2 separate regions of the Homo sapiens genome follow, and region 1 is linked to region 2. The links are contacts of gene promoters, found by promoter capture Hi-C in human tissues and cell types (Jung and others, 2019). All regions are on one chromosome and are shown on one strand. Each heading gives the region's core, a stretch centred on a gene start or on the middle of the fragment in contact. The rest is flanking DNA. Distances are from core to core; before and after follow the strand shown. Region 1 overlaps ZNF70 (zinc finger protein 70). Region 2 holds the start of MIF (macrophage migration inhibitory factor).

Region 1 (7,164 bases), core at 3,124-5,623, 160 kb after region 2:
AGTTCCACCCCCTCCTACCTGGGTGAGCTTGAACAAGTCCTGTAACTTCCCCAGGCTCCATTCCCCCATCCAAGAGTTGGGGTAATGGGAACTGGCCACGTGCCTCTAAGGGTTGGTGCCAGGCTGTCATTCAGAACACAGCCACTGTGAAAGTGCTTTGGCAACTGTGAGCAGTCATGGTGACTGAGGACAGAGACCCAGAGTGACCCCTGCCCCACCCCTGTGCATTTCCACGGACTGGAGAGATGTTCCCGTCTGGTTTCTGAGCAGTGGGACCTCTCATTGAACAGGGCTTTCTCTCCCTCCACCCCTTGCAGCCTGGGCTGTGTATGCCTGCGGATGCAGTGTCCCACACAAGGACACTTCCTCTAGGATGCCATCCTGAGCCTCCTGTAGCAGCAGTGTCATTCTGCACTTCCACATTCTGTCTGTCTTCCCCGCCTGCCAACTAGGAGTTCACGTGGGGCTTGTTTAAACAGTACCATTGCTTGTGTCCCACCTGGACCAGTTCAGTCAGCCCCAGTGGTGGCATGTTTTAAAGCTCCCCAGGTGATTATAACTTCCTAGTGTGCAGCCAGGCTGTGGGCCCTGTGCTGGGCTTTTTTTTTTGAGATGGAGTGTTGCCCTGTTGCCAGGCTGGAATGCAGTGGCGTGATCTTGGCTTACTGCAAGCTCTGCCTCCTGGGTTCAAGCGATTCCCCTGCTTCAGCCTCCTGAGTAGCTGGGACTACAGGTGCGTGCCACCATGCCTGGCTAATTTTTTGTATTTTTAGTACAGACGGGGTTTCACCATGTTGGCCAGGATGGTCTCGATCTCTTGACCTCGTGATCTGCCCGCCTTGACCTCCCAAAGTGCCGGGATTACAGGCATGAGCCTCCACACCTGGCCCATGCTGGGTTTTTGTGCATCCCTCGACAGCTTCCAATGTCAGCCTGCTGGCTTTGGCTGAGCAGAGCTTGAAGGCCATTCTGTCTCAGTGCCCTCACTCCCTGCTCCCCGCACCCGGAGCCTCAGGGATGGGCTCAGGCTGATGGTCAGCTGGGCGCTTGGAAAGTGTTTGGCTGGGGCCTTGGGGATCTCTTTAGTCCTGGCTTCCCTTGGGCTCCTCAGAGCTAGTGGGGAAGGAGGCAGTCTAGGCTGTTTTGAAGTTTCCTAAACATTTATGGCTGGGCTAACATGAACTCATCATGGTAACACTGGGTATTTCAGCTGATCAGAAGCTCAGCATGGCCATTATGCCTAGTTTTGATGAATAAACATGGGAAAGCCATAACTGTTACTAAGTGGGTCTTGATAGGCCAGAGATTTCCAAATGACAGATATGATGGGCTGGAGAGGTCATGGTGGGAGTTCCAGCCATGCCTCTGTCCAGCCCCTGTCTTTGCTACGTATGTGAAACATTTAACATTTAACCAGCACTCCATTGTCCACCAGAACCCTCTGTGTAACCAGTTGGACTGACTGGATGGTGCCCTGGGCATTGCCTGCAAGTGGCCTGTCATTTCAGGCCTGTCTCTATCAAGAGTGAAGAGAGAATGCTAGGATGCAGTGGGGACAGCAGGCGGCATCAAGCAGGGGTCCCTGAAAGATCTACCTCCTCTTTACACCTGCCCCTCTTCCCCACCGTTATCATCTGGCAAATGTCTGTTACCTATCTTTGGTTTCTCCCTCCCCATCCTTCCTGCACACCCCAGCCAAATTGATTTTTAAAGCATCATTTTGCACAAGTCACCACTCTCCTTAAAACCAACTTTCAGGAGCTTTCCTGCACGTAAACCCTCGTTTCAGCCAACCTGGTTTACCCACTCTGAGCAAGCCGCATGGAGATCAGGCCGCCCCTGCCCACTCCAGCATCACTCCCAGCTCATAATTCTGTGCTGTTCTTGCATTTTGAAATGTGCACTTTCTCCTCCTCTCCCTCCCTCTCTCTTTCTAATTTTTGTGTAACGTGGAGATGAAGATCCCCCCTCTCTCCCAAGGGTTAACAGATAAACATGGTAAGACCAGGTTCTTTTTTGGAAGTATGACCAGAGCCTCATTCCCTCTGTTCAAATTCTTTCCTTGTTTTATTAGTTTTTTTTTTTTTTTTTTTTTTTTTGAGACAGAGTCTCACTGTCACCCAGGCTGGAGTGCAGTGGTGCGATCTTGGCTTGCTGCAACCTCTGCCTCCCGGGTTCAAGTGATTCTCCTGCCTCAGCCTCCTGAGTAGCTGGGATTACAGGCATGTGCCACCACGCCTGGCTAACTTTTGTATTTTTAGTAGAGATGGGGTTTCACCATGTTGGCCAGGCTGGTCTCGAACTCCTGACCTCCTGATCTGCCTGCCTTGGCCTCCTGAAGTGTTGGGATTACAGGCGTGAGCCATGTGCCCAGCCAGCTTATTAGATTTTTTTTTTTAAACTCTCTCATTCTATTTAGATTCTCAAACAGTGTAAAGTTATAAAAGATCATCCCTGGCAATATTTTAATCAATTATCTTTTAATTTAGTTGTTCTTTGTTTTTGTTGTCCTACCTTTTTTTTTCTTTTTTCTTTTTTCTTTTTTTGAGATGGAGTCTTGCTTTGTCACCCAGGCTGTAGTGCAGTGGGGCGATCTCGGCTTACTGCAAGCTCTACCTCCCAGGTTCAGACCATTCTCCTGCCTCAGCCTCCCAAGTAGCTGGGACTACAGGCACCCGCCACCACGCCCGGCTAATTTTTTGTATTTTTAATAGAGACGGGGTTTCACCGTGTTAGCCAAGATGGTATCTATCTCCTGAGCTCGTGATCCGCCCGCCTCGGCCTCCCAAAGTGCTGGGATTACAGGTGTGAGCCACCGCGCTCGGCATTTTTTTATTTCTTCTTCTCCTTAGAGTGACAGCTTTGTCTGCACTCCGTAAGTTTTGACGTGGTGTTTTTTGTTATAGTATTAAGAATTTCCTTTTGCCCAAATGTTATTATTTAAAAATATTTCTAAGTGGGCCGGGCATGGTGACTCACACCTGTAATCCCAGCACTTTGGAAGGCCGAGGTGGGTGGATCACGAGGTCAGGAGTTTAAGACCAGCCTGGCCAACATGGTGAAAACCCGTCTCTACTAAAAATACAAAAATTAACTGGGCATGGTGGCGGGTGCCTGTAATCCCAGCTACACGGGAGGCTGAGGCAGGAGAATCGCTTGAACCCGGGAGGCGGAGGTTGCAGTGAGCCAAGATTGTGCCACTACCCTTCAGCCTGGGTGACAGGGCAAGACTCCATCTCGGGGAAAACAACAACAACAAAAACAAAAAATAGCCGGGAGCGGTGGCTCAAGCCTGTAATCCCAGCACTTTGGGAGGCCAAGACGGGCAGATCATGAGGTCAGGAGATCGAAACCATCCTGGCTAACACGATGAAACCCTGTCTCTATTAAAAATACAAAAAATTAGCCGTGCGTGGTGGCTACAGGCAGCTGTGCGCCTGTAGTCCCAGCTACTTGGGAGGCTGAGGCAGGAGAATGGTGTGAACCCGGGAGGCAGAGCTTGCAGTGAGCCGAGGTGGTGCCACTGCACTCCAGCCTGGGCAAAAGAGCTAGACTCTGTCTCAAAAAAAATATATATAAAAAAAATTTCTAAGTGATGAATGCTTAGGGTATTGCTGCTTATTTCTTACTGTACTGTGGTGTCAACATTTCTAAGTGTCCATAGGACTTCTTTGGGCCTGAATATATTATCAGTTTTTATAAAAGCATTTGTGTAATCTCAAAATGTGTTTTTATTCTACCAGTTCTATTTGTTAACTCAATTTTTTCATTATTTTATTCAAATCCATATTTTCTCTGACTTTCATTTACTTTAGAGTTCTTAATCTGGGGGTCCATGGCCTGCCTAGGAGTCTTTAGCATGTAGGGGTTTAGGAGTTGCAGACCCCTAGGGATCGAACAAAGCTGGGTATGTGCTTGAAGGAATTTTGCTGGGACAAGGATCTGTAGTATTTACTATATTTTTAAATGCCTCTGTGACACCAAAGCAGTTCAGAACACTCATTTACCTGATCTAATCATAGTTTGATGTTTGTGTGTTATATCTCTATGTATTCCTGTTTCACTTTTAATTTCTGTATGTGTATTGTCGCTATGTTGTGCAGTTTTTCTCAAGTCATTTTTGAGAAATAGGCAGGGTATGAATTATCAATAAATAAGTATCATGTTTGGGGCATATATATTTAATAGTGATATATTGAAAAACTCGGCCAGGCACAGTGGCTCATGCCTGTAATCCTAGCACTTTGGGAGGCCAAGGTGGGCGGATCACTTGAGGTCAGGAGTTTGAAACGAGCTTGGCCATAATAGTGAAACCCCATCTCTACTAAAAATACAAAAAATTAGCTGGGCATGGTGGTTTGTGCCTGTAATCCCAGCTACTTGGGAGGCTGGGGCAGAAGAATCACTTGAACCCGGGAGGTGGAGGTTGCAATGAGCAGAGATTGTGCCACTGCACTCCAGCCTGGGTGACAGAGCAAGACTCCATCTCAAAAAAAAAAAAAAAAAAAGAAAAAGAAAAACTATGCTAAGTACCCTCTTTGCCTCTTTTAATATTTCTAGCTTAAACTTGTCTTTTCCAAATATTATAATTGAAGCCCCCTGCTTTTCTTGAATTTGCCTGGTAGAGTTTAGCTCAGCATTTTGTTTTTTAAATTTGTGTATATATTTTGCTATACATCTACATAAACAACAAATTGTTAGAGTTTGTTTTCTGGTTCTTTCTGTAATTTATTTTTGTACGAGAAGTTCTATCATTAATACTATTGAGCAAGGCATAATTTATTTTCATTTTAATATTTTAATATATATTAACTAATTTAACCTCAAAAAGCCATGCTCACCCCTCACTCCCATCTCTAGGAGTTATTAACCATATGTGGAGTGTCATTTCTGGATAGACTAGAGGTCTGCCATTGGGCCCACCTGTCTCTCTTCTTGTCACATTTGGGTTCAGTGCCAAGATCTGCCCTGAGCCCATTCCTCAAGTTACAGCCTCTGACTTCAGGGTCCTAAGCTATAACATGGGGGAATGATGACACTCACAGCCTTGGGGGCCTCAGTGGTATAAGGAATGCAAACATGCTTAGCAAACTATCAGGTGCAGTTGATTATTACACTATTAGTGTTTTGAAGTATTTCTTTCTTTCTTTTTTTTTTTTTTTGAGATGAAGTCTTGCTCTGTAGCCCAGGCTGGAGTGCAGTGGTGCGATCTCGGCTCACTGCAACCAGGATCAAGCGATTCTCCTGCCTCAGCCTCCAAAGTAGCTGAGATTACAGGCACGCGCCATTGCACCTGGCTAATTTTTTTTTTTTTTTTTTGGGGGACGGAGTCTCACTCTGTTGCCAGGCTAGAGTGCAGTGGCGTGATCTCAGCTCACTGCAACCTCCACCTCCCAGGTTCAAGCGATTCTCTTGCCTCGGCCTCCCAAGTAGCTGGGATAACAGCTGGGATAACAGGCATGCGCCACCATGCCCTGCTAATTTTGTATTTTTAGTAGAGGCATGGTTTCCCCATGTTCGCCAGGCCGGTCTCTATCTCCTGACCTCAGGTGATCCACCAGCCTCAGCCTCCCAAAGTGCTGGGATTACAGACATGAGCCACTGCGCCTGGGCCTCCTATGAGTCTTTAATGCCAAGGATGCTTCCTCAGGATAAAGGCTTATGTCCATTTCAGTGTCGACTGTCAGGGACTCAGCTGCAGACTCTTTTGACTCATCTGCTTTTTATTTGTTTTTAATTTTTTTGCAAGCCTTTATGCTGCTTTCCTGTCTTTCTCCTCTTCCTGAGTTCTCTTCCCCATACCTACAGCGTGGCCTCCGCACATACCAAGCTTGCAAGCTTGCTGTTTGCTGCAAAGAAACCTGGACTGACAATCTCTCTTCTGTCATCTGGGCAGCCAGACTGAGTGTCCCCTTCTACCTGGGTGCCTGTGTGCATGTCCTCTAACCCCTAACCCTTTGCAGCTTCTGTTTTTTTTTTTTTTCTTTTTTTCTTTTGTTTTTTTGGAGACAGAGTTTTGCTCTTGTTGCCCAGGCTGGAGTACAATGGCAAGATCTCGGCTCACCACAACCTCTGCCTCCCGGGTTCAAGCGATTCTCTTGCCTCAGCCTCCCAAGTAGCTGGGGTTATAGGCATGCGCCACCATGCCCAGCTTATTTTGTATTTTTATTAGAGACGGGGTTTCTCCGTGTTGGTCAGGCTGGTCTCAAACTCCCTACCTCAGGTGATCCACCCGCCTCGGCCTCCCAAAGTGCTGGGATTACAGGCGTGAGCCACCATGCCCGGCCAGCTTCTGTTTCTTTATGTATAAACAGTACTGTCATGAAGATGCAATGAGATGAATTTTAGCTCAGAGCCTGCCACCTGGTGACTTACCCATGTTAGGTATTGTGGTTACAGCCCTGCTGTCAAACCACTTCTCCAACTCTCTTTCTAGCCTCAATTCATCTGTCAAAGCATTTGGCCCCAGGATTTTGCTGCGTATTCAGAAGTACGACCTCACATCTGCAGAATGCCACTGGCTTTCACACGAGGCCTCCCAGAAAGGGATGCCAGGCCTCAGACACTAGCTGGTGGCTCTCAGGACTTGCCACTCCATTTTCGCATTTTTCAGGACCACATGGCATACAGTTGGTCTCACAGTCTTTCCTGTCTTCCCAGTGGTCAGCTGCAGCCCAGTTCTAGGGCTTCTGTGGGGGAAGACAGGAGAGGGCTTGGAGTCAGGACACTAAAATGTGTCAGACGAAGCTTTGCTTGCAAGGAGCTTACCACTTGGGTGGTGGAGAAGGCCCAGAAGGCACTACTACAGTGCTCCCAAATCAGGAAAAGATCGCTAAATGCCCGTACTACTCAGGATCACATGGGAGCCCAGAGTTGGACACCTGGATCAACTGGGAGCCTACCTGACATTGATGATGTTTGGCTAGAATACTGATGAATGAATGGGAGGTAGCAAGACCGACACTGAGGGAAGGGCATCCCAGGCACAGGGAAGAGCATTTAGGAAGGCTTGAAACAGTTGGATCCATTCTGGGAACTCCAAGTAATTCCATTCTTAAGTTGAGCCAGGGCTAGAAATCGTCAAACCACAACACATTCCAGCCATTGGTCTCTTTTTCTCCCTCTGTTCCATCCCATATAGCTCAATACTATAGCTAGATTTAT
Region 2 (7,207 bases), core at 3,189-5,688:
CAGATGAGGCCTGAGGTTCCAGGACTGAAGGGACAGAGTCGGTTTCTGAAACTGACAATCTCTGTTTCTTTTACATGGGCTTCAAACATAGAAATGAAGTGGCTTGGCCTCACTCGCCAGGAGGGGAAATCTGGGCAGTTGGCTGGTGGGTTGACATTGTCCCTCACACCAGTCCTGTAAATTACTCAGGAAGGCCCAGGCCTGGAGAACTAAGACTTGGCTTTCACTGCTTAGCCTGGAAAGGAACTGAGATGGCCAAAGAGGGCTTTATAGAAACAGTGTCAGTGGCCCAGAAATCCTGGAAATCTCCCAAGCTCCAAGGATCAGTTGATCTCTGTGTGTGTCTCCTGCACATAGAGAGCTCCACTCAGTTCTGTGGTCTTTGGGCTGGTGGCCCCAGGGGCCCCTCCCTTGGCACTTGTCCAGGTAACTGAAAAACCACTCTGATATGAGGGTTGGCCCTGCATTAATTTTATCTACTGCATTAGAGGCAGTAGGGTTGTCTCATTGCCTGCCCTGCCAGCTCCTGTGAGTGGTAGAGCCAGCCCTTCAGTGTGGGGCTGGTGGGGGAGCAGTTCCCAGTGAAGGCATTTGAGTTGCATCCCAGCAGGATACCACTCGTTTGCCCTGCTGCACAGACTGGCCTCACTGGCCTCCTAGCACTTCCCGGCTCCATCTGGAGACTTCTAAGTAGATACCTAACCACACTTCCTCATTGTCTCTGTCCCTGCCTCCCTATCCACTGCCATCAAGGCTGGCACATCAGGAACAATAGTGCCCTCCGAGGAAGGGGTGAGGGAGAGATTTCACAATTTATCAAGACCTGAGTGCAGGCACAGGCCACCTGCTGTCTCCTCCCTTCCCATGGCATTCCTTGGATTAACCGTGCCTCTGAGGATGTGAGATGTCCCTGTCATGCCTCCGTGATTGAGTATGTGGGAAGGACTTCTGATGAATCCCTTCATTTCACAGATGGGAAAAACTGAGGCCAGTAGAAGGAGCAGAGTGGGAGCCTGATCCTGATCTTGCTGGAATCGGGCTCCCAGAAGGGAGTGGGGTCTGGAGGCTGGCGGTGGGGGGTGGTGGGGAGGGAGTCTCTGCAACAAAGCAAAATTCCTGGAGGGGATGAGGTGGGACACATGCAGGGTGGGAAGTCTTGGGAAAAGCCTACATTGCTGGGCTGTCCAGAATGGACAAGTACCGAGGGGCCCCTGGTGCCACCAGCCCAACGGATCACAGAACTGGGTGGAGCTATGTCCAGAAATGGAAACCTCAGCTAACAGGACCTGGGCTGAAGCAAAGGGGCCTGTGGGTGTTGACCAGGTGGCCTCAGGGAAGGTATCCCAGAAGAATGGTGTGTGTGAGGCTTATAGTGGACAGATGGGGGACAGGCCTTGAACCTACAAAATGAGGTTCAAGGCCTGCCAGGCTGTCTGTCTGTTGCAAACAGTGGCCCTGAGGAGAGTGAGGGTCACCCTGTAGGCCGGGGGTCTTTCTCAGCAGATGACATAGTACCACCAGAGTGATGGAGAACAGGCAGATGGACCCCACACCTGTCTGTCCTGTACCTCAGAGTTTGTGGCGTTACTTGGAAATGCATTTCCAAGGCTGACCCTGCAGGTCCTGGGGCAGTCAAACAGGGGTTTGAGGAAGAGACCCACCACCTGGTGGGCAGTGGAGCCTGTGCTTTGGAGGAAATGGAGCTGGCCATGGGATGGGGGTCAATGGGGGCAGGTGTGGCTTGAAGGTGGGATGTAGCAGCTGACCTCCCCAGCAGGCAGGCCGGTTATTAGTCCCAGGGGACTTAGGAACACTTTGGGCAGGGCAAGCGGATAGGTCCCTGACCCACAGACACCCCCTTTGTTCCTGGAGTCCAAGGACCCATGACCTTGTGGATGCCCCCAGGGGGCCACAGAACCTCAGACACTCACCTGCTTTTGGAGGACAGCTCTCACCAACCCTCCTGCCCTCACACAGCAGGTGCCCAGCCTGCCCTGCCCATCTCCTCGGCCCTCAGAGTCTAACTTGCTCATGTGAGGCCACAGGGCCCTTGCAGGGGGCATGGCATTGAGTGTATGACCATGCCCTGGATCCTGGGGTCAGTGTCCTCATCTGTGAAATGAGGGAGTTGCATTAGATGCTCATGGGGCACTGCGCCCCTGCTCTCCCTATCTGTGACACAGCCGAGAGCAAAGACCGCTGAGGCGGGGTGGGAGCCAGGGGGCCAGCCAGGGCTTGGTGGGGTGTGGGGCCCGAGGCAGAAAGAGTTTGTTGTGGGGGGAACTGGGGGTCCTGGGCAAAGCTCAGCCTCAGGCCTTGGGAGGCTGGGGCTGGGGGCACCCAGGAGCTGAGGGGATGTGATAAAGGCCAGGGCCGAGGAGGGTGCCTGTTACACCACAGGTACTCAGATCCAAGAAGGAAACCTCAAGCCTGAAAGCCAGGCTGAGAGGAGTGGGACCTTCCCGCTACAGCTGGAGCCATCCCATGCCCCCCATGTCTCCCCCAGCTGGGAGGTAGACGAGGGGCTCCACCGCCCTCTCACTGAGTTAACAATGAGACTGAGGCCCTCGGCTGGCAGGGAGTAAGCTGAGGAGGGCCTTGCTTTAGAGACCTTCATGGAAGGGGTGCCCCATCCCAAGATGGGTGCCACCCTTCCAGACTCCCTGGAGCTTCTATTCTCCTTCCTCTTCCTAATCTTCACCCCACCCAGCCCCATTGCTCTTCTGGAAGGAGAGCTCGCTGTCCAGTACTGCGCGGGATGACCGAGTGAACAGGGGACTGGAGACGAGATGTGGCTGGAGACTGAGAGAAGCAGAGGAGTCACACTCCACTCACCTCCACCTCCCAAAGTGCCGGGATCACAGGCTTGTGCCACTGCGCCCAAACATAACTGAAGGTTTTACAGACATGTCTGTGGCACCACAGAACACGAACGGTCCCAATGGAAACCCCACGCCCAATTTCCTCAGGGAACTGCTGTGGCGGAGGCTTGGTGGGTGTCTGAGGGGAGCAGAACCCAAGGCGTGGGGTTCGGGGGTGGACGGGGCGGTATGACCAAGAACTCTGCACCTCCCCCACCCACCCGCCTGAAAACTCTCCTGAAGTCACCTAACAAAGTGGATGGCAGTGAGTGGCTCTGGGTGGGATCTTTCTGTCCTCTGGCTACCCTCTGCCCAACAAGAAGGCTGGGGAAGGTGGGGCTGAGAGAAAGGTCTAGGCCTAGAAGACCTCGGACTCCTCCCAACTCCAACTCCTCCTCCCCCTCTTCCGTGGTCGGCTCACCTCCAGCACCCCACGTGGTGGCCCTAGGTACAACGGATTCCGGCGGGCAGAGCGCCTTAGATCCCGAGTCTGCAGCCCAGGGCAGAGTGCCAACTTCTCCTCATCCCTTCGTACGCCATAGAATGGAAAGACACTGGGGCTCCTCTGTTAGGAGCGTAGGAGGGACAGGCTGGACAAAAGGGCTCCCGAACAGCAGGTTCGGAGGAGAGCAACCCGGCCCTGACCCCCGCCCCCAACACCGTTCCCGACCTCGCTCCCCAATATCCCGGCTCTGCACCAATTCCTCCCGCAAGCCAAGGAACCCCGAGGCACTCCTAGTCTCTAAACCGTTTATTTCTCCCCACCAGAAGGTTGGGGTGGGCGGGCCTAGAACACAGCGTGCGGCGGGTTCCCGGGTGGAGCCAGCGCAGACAGCGTGGGTCCCTGCGGCTCTTAGGCGAAGGTGGAGTTGTTCCAGCCCACATTGGCCGCGTTCATGTCGTAATAGTTGATGTAGACCCTGCGGGGGGAGGAGGCCGGACTCAGCGGGTGGCTCAGTCCCGGGCCTGGCCGCGCGCCGCCGCCCCTCCCCCGCCCCTCCGCGACTCCGCGTACCTGTCCGGGCTGATGCGCAGGCGCTCGGCCAGCAGGCCGCACAGCAGCTTGCTGTAGGAGCGGTTCTGCGCGCCGCCGATCTTGCCGATGCTGTGCAGGCTGCAGAGCGCGCACGGCTCGCTGGAGCCGCCGAAGGCCATGAGCTGGTCCGGGACCACGTGCACCGCGATGTACTGCGAGGAAAGGGCGCGGTCAGCCCGCCCCAGCGACCTCGTCGGGCCCCGAACGTCCACTTCGGGCCCGAGCCACCGTCCTCCCCCCGCCCCGCCCCCCAGCTCCGTTCAGGAGTCGCCTCCCCAGCTCCCAGCGCGGAACCCCTCGTCCGGTGGGCACCCCCCTCTTCCTGTCCCCTCCCGGCAAACCTGGGGGGGCTTGCCGGTGGCCTGCGCCAGCTGCTGGGTGAGCTCGGAGAGGAACCCGTCCGGCACGGAGGCGCGGGGCACGTTGGTGTTTACGATGAACATCGGCATGATGGCAGAAGGACCAGGAGACCCGCGCAGAGGCACAGACGCACGCGCCGCGGCCGCCGCTGAGCTACGTGCCTGACTTCTCGGACACCACTGTGGTCCCGCCTTTTGTGACGCCACCGCCGGCGCCAGGCCCCGCCCCCGCGAGGCTGCGGCTCCGCCCCGAGTGGGGAAGTCACCGCCTGCCTCGGCTCGACCCCCGCAGGGCAGGACCCTGGGCGACTCCGCCCGTTCCTCCAGCAACCGCCGCTAAGCCCGGCGCACCGCTCCAACCTGTTCTCCACTTGGCGGCTAGAAATCGGCCTGTTCCGGCCTCGCCTCGGGTCTTTCTTAGTCCTTTCACTAAGTCACCGATGTTAGTCGCCAGGAGGCGCTGTGCCGGGGGTGGGGATGCGGCGGTGAACCCGGAAGATGGCCCCTTACCCTTCCAGAGATGAAGCCCAGTTCATTCCACTGCACGCACTGAGCCCCTGTACCTCCTGTCTTTGGGCCACATGTCCTCAAGGGCTCCAGTCCCGCATGCGTGAGCTTGTGTGTTTGAGATGGGGCGGGGTAGTCATCGCGGCAGGTGAGAGGGGAGCTGCCCCTGCGAATCACCATCCAGGGAACTTCCCTGAACCCCTGCTCTTTAAAGAGGATAGGATGCTGGGAGGCACCGAAGGGAAGGAGGCGAGGTCCAGAGCAGGTTCAGTGGTTCAAACGTGCTCAGCTCCCCTTCTCTGGGCCTCTGGGCAACTTCAGCTCCTCAGGGAAGCCACACCCTAGTCAGGTCCACCGTGTATGGCCTCTCATAGAGCCCTTGGTGAATTTCTTAAATGTCTTTTCCACTAATGGTAAACTCGGGGACCATCTAGCAGGTGCCAGGCATACAAGAGACATTGACTAATACTGCTGAATGAATGAATGAATGAATGGGTGAAAGAAGATAAGCCATGACATAGCAGGAAGAGGACAAGGCAGCAACTGGATCACAGGCCAGGTCCTCAGAGATTTCCAGGGAGGTCCTGTCCTTGGTCTCTGATAGGTGCAATCCATATACCAGTCTCAGTGAAGGCCATGTGATATAGGAAGGACACCCATGCCTGTGGGACCCTCGTGGCACCAGCCAGCCTCCAGCTGGGAGGCCCCATGGCCCATTTATACAAATAGCCTATGGGTATTGGTTCCTGCAGCTGGGCCCCAGACTCTTTCCCTCCTGGTGTCACACCTTCTCTTACCTGTGCCCAGGGCTCCCTAACTGATGGCACTCCATACCATGTCTCCAGCCAGGGGCACTCCCCTAAGTCCCAGGCGCTGACAGCAGCTGACTGAGTGTCCACTGCTCTGTAAAGTCCAAATGTATGACTTGTCCTCCTACACCTCATCACCTGCCAGTAAAATATGCTTCCTTTCACTATCCCTTTATTCCCACTTCTCTCCATTCCCTGAACTACCGCCTAGTCTACACTACCTGCATCCCCTTTGGCCTGGACCACTGTGACTTCCCTATGGTGGACTGCTGCTCCTCAAGGGAGGAGTCTGTTTCCAGCCCCAGGCAGCAGAGTTAGCCCCGACTCCCTGTGCCCTATGAAAGCTGAGCAGAATTACATAAGTCACTCCAGGCAGAAGACTGAAGAGCCAGGGCCTGGTTGACCTGTGCCCTGTGAACCTGAATGACAAGGTGCAGCCTCGCCAGCAAGCACATGAGCTGCCCCTGGAGGTGAGCCCCTGCCAATCTCAGGTTGTTACCATAACAAAGGGTTGCCTTACCTGGCCAGTGACGGAGCAGGAGCATTGCCATCTTGAACAAACACCACCATTCTAAGTTCCCCCTTAATTAAAAGCCGCCTAAATCCAGCCCGAAAATATCAGCCTAATAGCTAATGTCAGCATAACCAGAAACATTCCAACCCTAAGATAAACCCTTCTCTGACCAGAAACATGCCAACCCGGAGACAGCCTCCCTTCTGACCAGAGACATTCCATCCCCGCAATAAACTTTCCCTCACACAGAAACATTCAGAACCTATGATAAGAACCCCCTCCAAAACCCTTAAATATCCTTAGTTTGTAAGAGAGTGTGGCTCTGACCTAACTTGGCCAGAAGCCCCTCTCAAGTTTGTTTTCCAAAATAAACCTGTCCTTGTTGACTGTCGAGCCACCCTTGGTGTTTCTTTCCTCTTTAATTCTTATAGCCAGGACAGCCTCTGAGCCACTTGTCATCTCCTTGTACCCTCCCCAGCTGTTTCCAGTGGCAGTCAGCCTCATCCTTCTAGAAGGGTACCCAAAGAAGTGATATGATTTGCCTCTTACTAGCATGGACATTTGGCTCACTTTCCCCATCTGTAATTTGGGGATGACAATAGTGTTCACCTGACATAGAGGTGTTATGAGCACCAAGTGGCCTAAATGCCAATGACAGTCTCCTCTGATACTAGGGGTAGTACTGTCACAAGGCCCTGGGGTAACCCGGTCCCTGTGAGCCTCCGCCAACCCTCCCTGGTTCTCTGAGTTATGGCGCACTGTCCTTCAGTACCATGGCTCCTGGCTCCAGGGTTGGGGGTTGGTTCTGAAATCCAGTTTGCCCACATTTTCCCTCATCTGACTCCAACTCATCCTTCAGTTCTTGGCTCAGCCTTAGTTCCTTGGGAAAGCCCCCGGAGCACCTGGCTTGGTCCATTCCCACACGTGCCCAGTACCTGTCCTGTCCTTCGAGGCTATCTCCATATTTCTGAGTTAAGACTGCATGTCTAGGCGGTAAACTCCATCCCAGTGGGGACAGTCTCTTTTTGGGCATTGCTGTATGCATACCTCCTGACCCCTTACCTCCGTGGTAGGCAGATGACCCCCTGCCCACTAAAGAATAGCAGGGGGAGGACAAGCAC

What was found. The method cuts DNA at HindIII sites, captures the fragments that hold promoters and counts their contacts. A contact is called where the count stands out against the background at its distance.
Region 1: a contact is called between a fragment that was not itself captured here and the fragment with the promoter of MIF in region 2, in 1 of the 25 tissues and cell types used here (adrenal gland).

What each region holds. Positions count from the first base shown.
Region 1 is chr22:23,735,692-23,742,855 of GRCh38, reverse strand. It overlaps ZNF70 (zinc finger protein 70), which reads left to right. Exons shown (of 2, transcript NM_021916.4): 2 at 1-4,174. Among named protein-coding and RNA genes, the nearest start is that of ZNF70, 12 kb to the left of the region's middle. The HindIII fragment of the contact is 3,840 bases long and covers 2,454-6,293 here.
Region 2 is chr22:23,891,614-23,898,820 of GRCh38, reverse strand. MIF (macrophage migration inhibitory factor) reads right to left here and starts at 4,438. Exons shown (of 3, transcript NM_002415.2): 1 at 4,239-4,438; 2 at 3,877-4,049; 3 at 3,598-3,781. The coding sequence starts at 4,346. The coding sequence ends at 3,715. It overlaps MIF-AS1 (MIF antisense RNA 1), which reads left to right. Exons shown (of 3, transcript NR_038911.1): 2 at 2,711-2,992; 3 at 3,289-5,111. RefSeq lists enhancers at 3,148-3,955, 3,956-4,763. The HindIII fragment of the contact is 32,419 bases long and covers 1-7,207 here.